Regions from separate parts of the Homo sapiens genome. Here region 1 is linked to region 2. The links are contacts of gene promoters, found by promoter capture Hi-C in blood cells and fetal thymus (Javierre and others, 2016). All regions are on one chromosome and are shown on one strand. The core of a region is centred on a gene start or on the middle of the fragment in contact, and the rest is flanking DNA. Distances in the headings are between cores, read along the strand shown.

Region 1 (2,858 bases), core at 230-2,729, 340 kb after region 2:
GTCTTCAGGCCTACTGTGTCCAGTGTTCATTATAAATTTTTCTTATTTCGAGTCTCTCTTTTGTCTAGTTGGGAATCATGCTGTTCAATATTTTCAGTTACTGGCTTTGCTCATTCTGTCCTAGATAGAAATTTAACCACCTGTAGCAAGTAAAAATCTTGGACAAGCAAAAAAACTTTTATATTACAGTTAATATATTTGATATAAATTTTACAGTACAGAGAACCAAACAGAAAAGAAGCTTTTTTAAAAAAAAATTAGTTATCAATTATTTGGCTTAAAAGGAATGTGTGTGTGTGTGTGTGTGTGTGTGTGTGTATTTGTGACTGGGATTATAAAAAGATAATAGAGTATGATCAAATAGATTTGAGTGAAAACTACAGGAATTAAAAATATTAATTAACACCCATGCTGTGTTCCAAGTGTGAAGGCAAAAGATATATTACTGCAAGTGTAAAGACTCAGAAAAGTTTCTATTTGAGGGCTCATGTTGAAATATTTGCATGAAGACTCATTTTATTTAGCTGAGAAGTTAATTACATTAGCTATTCAAAATGGAGAAATCATTGTATGAAACACACACATTACTTCTCTTTTATCAAGATTGAACTTGCACTCCATGAATTGATGAATATTTGTAGTCAGATGTATGCAATCCAAGCTGACTTGAACTTAAAGACTTGCTTGGGGCCTCCACTGTTCTTCTTTATTTCCTCTTCAATGTTATCATACAAAGTGTGTCTCTGCCGGACTATGCCATACTTATCAGCTGTATGAAATTTATTTCCACATTTCCATAAGTTTGCTTATCAGCAAAAACAACAAGTGGTGATGTTCTATCTCAGTACTTAGTTATTACTAAATATGACATATTTGGGATGCTATGCCAAAAAACATACTAAGTTATTTTTTGCTACTTCAAAATATTTGCACAAAGAAACAGCAGTAATTTTATTCCCCAAGGATGGTGCATAATGAAGGTGTGCAACTCTAAAAAAGTTATTTCATTATCTAAATTACTATCTTCTTTATTTATGGCAAAGATCAATCAAACCACCCACTTTCATCATCATGAATCAGGAAAATATATATATATAAATAAAAATAAAGACATTTTAATTTTTAAAACTTTTTTCATAATAATATAATAATTGTTTGTTTCATAAGTTTGAGGGATATTAATTGCTCATACTTATTCATAACAATCTCAAGATTACTAATTATTGTCAATCTTATTTTAGATATATCCTGGCATACTTGGTTAGTTGGGGTAGGGGCAGAGACCATGATAGTAAATGCAAAATTCAGGGCAAATAGTTGCTAGGGAACCAACAGAAGGTTACACCTTTGACAAAAGGTTAATCTGCTTCACAGTGTAGTGGGTGGAAAATGTTAAGTATAAACAACTTTACATAATCTTTTTTCCATTTAAGATCATATTACTCATTATATTATGCTTATCCACCTAGGATTTATTTACATTCGGCTTCTTCCTAATGTCAAATGAGTGCTGTTAAAGTTCCTCCAGGAAACTTCAGGTAAGAAACTAGAAAACTTCATGATAATCAATATAAAATGTATATTTTAATTTATTTTCCATTCTCTTCTTAAAGAAATATCAATCTTTAAAACGCTGGTTTACCTTTTGGTTTGTTTCATTGCTTACCCATGAAAGCATTATTAGTTCTACTTTATAATTTGATGGATTTTTCTCCCAGATTTTATACTTCAAAATAATTTTACAGATATCGAGGGAACTGTGTGGACAGAGCAGTAAGTTGAGAGTTTTGTCTAAGTGTGAACTCAAAGTCCTCTTTAGGGATTCTTCTCATGCCTTTTGTTCCTACCAGTGGAGAGTTGTTTGTTCCTTCATTAGATGACACATAAAGTGACAAATAAGAAACTTTATACTGATATATGGTGAAGACAAGAATAATGTACACAAGTGACCACTGTGGTCCTTAAGACAACACATGAATGAGAGGATGTGAGATGTCATCTTTAGTGGGTATTTTATTTTCTTAATATTGTTTAATGGATTTTTAAATATTTATTTTAAAATCTATTTACTTTAAATATAAGTCAAATGTTTTATGCTATAAATCAAATAAGTTTTATGCAAAATCAATTTTATTTATTAAAAAAAGAAAATAATGGCCAGGCGCGGTGGCTCACCCCTGTAATCCCAGCACTTTGGGAGGCCGAGGAGGGTGGATCACCTCTGGTCAGAAGTTCAAGACCAGGTGAAACCCCGTCTCTACTAAATATACAAAAATTAGACAGGTGTGGTGGTGGTCGCCTATAATCCCAGCTACTCGGGAGGCTGAGGCAGGAGAATAGCTTGAACCCGGGAAATGGAGGTTGCAGTGACCCGAGATTATGCCCTTGCACTCCAGCTTGGACAACAAGAGCAAAACTTGGTCTCAAAAAAAAAAAAAAAAAAGGACATAAAGTTTTTCTAAAGAAAATGCTGTTGTAAAAGCAATAACCAATTGTGTTAATGTGAATGCCATGCTAACTCCTTTTGTATGCAGTTGTTAACCAGTAGAAGGCATCTGAGTTATCAGTGGCGAATCCTTACAGGTCTGAAGCAACTTCAATTCTTGCCTCCTCAGAAGTAAGAATTTGACTGGGGGGCATCAGGCAGATGAGACTGACGGGAGTTTCAGAGCAGGAGCGGAAGTTTATTTTAAAGGCTTTAGAACAGGAAAGAAAGGAAAACGTACTTGGAAGAGACTCAAGTGGGCACCTGAAGTGCCCCGTTTAACCTCGATCCTAGGACTTTATAGGCTCGCCTCTTTTCCATGATTCTTCCCTTAGGGTGGGCTGCCCACATGTGCAGTGCCCTTCTTACCCTT
Region 2 (2,700 bases), core at 92-2,591:
TATGGCATTTGCTTTGTTACTTATTCACTGATTTGCCTCAGTTATTCAAACTGAAATTTCTGGCCGGGTGTGGTGGCTCATGCCTGTAATCACAGCACTTTGGAAGGCCAAGGTGGGCAGATCACCTGTGGTCAGGAGTTCAAGACCAGCCTGACCAACATGGAGAAACCCCGTCTCTACTAAAAATAATAATAATAAAAATTTAGCTGGGCATGGTGGTGAGTGCCTATAATCCCAGCTACTTAGGAAGCTGAGGCAGGAGAATCACTTGAGCCCGGGAGGTGGAGGTTGCGGTGAGCCGAGATTGCACCATTGCACTCCAGCCTGGGCAACAAGAGCGAAACTCTGTCTCAAATTAAAAAAAAAAAAAAAAAAAAAAGGAAATTTCTGGTATTAGAGTAAGTGTAAAAATAATATGTACTTTGGGGTTTTTCTATCACCTGATAGATAAACCTACCCATCAGTCATTTTATGATGCAAAAAGCATAAAAACTTTAGTGTATTTTATACCTGTAAATTTTATTGAAAGTATGGAATCAAAAAATGCTCATAGAAGAGTAGTTTTGTTTTACTAACCTTGATAAACTGAAAGATGGATATATAGACATAGATATATAAATATATATGTCATGGTTTTAAAAAAATATTTCCCCAATGAAAAATAATAAAAATATGAAATAGTAAAATCTTTGTTTTCTGCCATATCACAACTGAATGAAAACAACTTAAGTAATATAAAACAGTAAGGCAGTAAAGCATGACTGTTATACAACATTTTTTATTATGCAGAATGACATAACTGTTTAAAATGATGGAAAGGTCAATGAAAAGGTAGTGAGAAATGTTTACTTATGGGAAAAAAGTAAATTTTTAAAAGTTAAACTTGTGAAACAATATATACATTTGCAAAAAAGAGAACGTATGCTATTTTCTTAAAATATGAACTTCGAATAAAGGTAAAAGTAGTAAGTAGCAGAGTAGATGCCAGTACGTAGACAAGGAAATAAAAAGCTTTTCAGAAGTTCCATCAGGAGAGAAGTTGGAATATGTCTCCATATTCCACATTATTTACTTTGCATGATGATTGCTGATTTCAATGTATAGTTATTCAGATTCTCAACTTACCTTCAGATCCTAAGAAGGTCATCATTTCTCTCAATTGTTTCTTTATGAGAAATTATCATTACATAAATACACATTTTTATAATTAGTTTTCAAAAGATTTTAGGAAGCAACACTCTAGATTAAGACAACATATTCGATTATACATGAACATATTACCTTTTACTCAAGATGAGACTACAGAAGTAGTGAAGTTGAAGTGAAGCTTCAAGAGATGATGTGCTACCCTAGAGGGCCAATGTATTTAAACACTCTGAAGTCCCCCATTTGTTTTTGTTAAATAATGGCAATTATGAGATCACATTATGGAAACTAAAAGTAATGCCCAAAATCTGTCTCTACAAATGATAAAAATAACCGTAACAAAGTGATTTTGCAATAGATGATTGTGAAGACAAAGTAACCAGGAAACAACTGTACCCACTGCATGTTAATCCCACTGTTAGTCTAGCGCTGAGTGAGTCAGATGACAGAAAAGCATGCTGGAGGAAACCAGGCATAGAAATAATTGCAGTGATAAAGATGTTTCCACAAGTATGTGTCCAAGGTGGAACAACTCTATGACACAAATAATACTTACCATGTTATCAAGATTTTACATGTTCTCTGATAACTCGTGGTAACTGGCATAATAAAATTACAGTCTTCATATACTTCAAGAGTTTTTCTTCAAATCATTATTTATCTCATACTTTTACCATCTTCTATTGACTTTAGAATATTTTAAGTTACAAAGTGAACGTAAACATTTGCCAAATTCAGTAATCTTTTGGGTACTATATGATAAAAAATTATTATATTTATGGTGAAATGACTCTAAGTGCTCACTGATACATATCTCACATATGACTGAATATATGTATTTGGAAATTCAATTTAATTTCCTGGAGTTTTTAAGGCTACATATTTTTCCATAGCAGCCATGTGTTGACATGATTACACTAGAGTGAAGGAAAAAATGTTTTCATTACATTCCTAGGAAAATTTGTGTAAAAATTACCCTACTCACTGCTGGTTGGATAACTCAATGTACTAAGAAACGAATATCAAAAACTTATATATAAAGTTGAGGTAAGTTATACAGCCTAGTGCATTGTTCCTCAGAGTGTGCCATATGGGAACATCACAGACAGCATCAGCTGGAGCCTGTGGAAATGTAAATTCTTAGTCCACCTTCGCAAACTTGCTGAGTCAGAATCTTGGGGTTGTCCTAAGGCGTTTGCATTTTAACATTATCTCCAGGTGATTCTTTGGGTACTGTGAAGTTTGAAACAAGGCTGGTCTCAGTGGCTCATGTCTGTAATCCCAGCACTTTGGGAGGCCGAGGCAGGAGGATTGCTTGAGCATAGAAGTTCAAGAATAGCCTAGGCAACATAGTGAGACCCGTATCTCCACAAAAACATAAAAAAAAAAACAACCACATATTTGTCTCTTGAATGCATTAGTTATCCTTAGGCTTTAACCAGTAAAGATAATTTGTGGTTTAATTTTGTATCAGATTTTTTAAGGAAGTATTTATTAGGTAAATTTTTATGCTGTATTGGAACAGCCTTACTGGAAATTATGATTACTCTCTGG

Evidence for each region. Contacts are between HindIII fragments. The CHiCAGO score rates a contact against its expected background, and 5 or more counts as called.
Region 1: the fragment with the promoter of UGT2A1 here is called in contact with the fragment with the promoter of STATH in region 2 in 6 of 17 cell types (neutrophils, M2 macrophages, endothelial precursors and 3 more); the score reaches 7.1 in neutrophils.

Annotation. Positions count from the first base shown.
Region 1 is chr4:69,651,868-69,654,725 of GRCh38, reverse strand. UGT2A1 (UDP glucuronosyltransferase family 2 member A1 complex locus) reads left to right here and starts at 1,479. Exons shown (of 7, transcript NM_001252275.3): 1 at 1,479-1,538. The HindIII fragment of the contact is 6,501 bases long and covers 244-2,858 here.
Region 2 is chr4:69,994,607-69,997,306 of GRCh38, reverse strand. It overlaps STATH (statherin), which reads right to left and starts at 1,341. Exons shown (of 6, transcript NM_003154.3): 1 at 1,282-1,341. The HindIII fragment of the contact is 2,895 bases long and covers 1,330-2,700 here.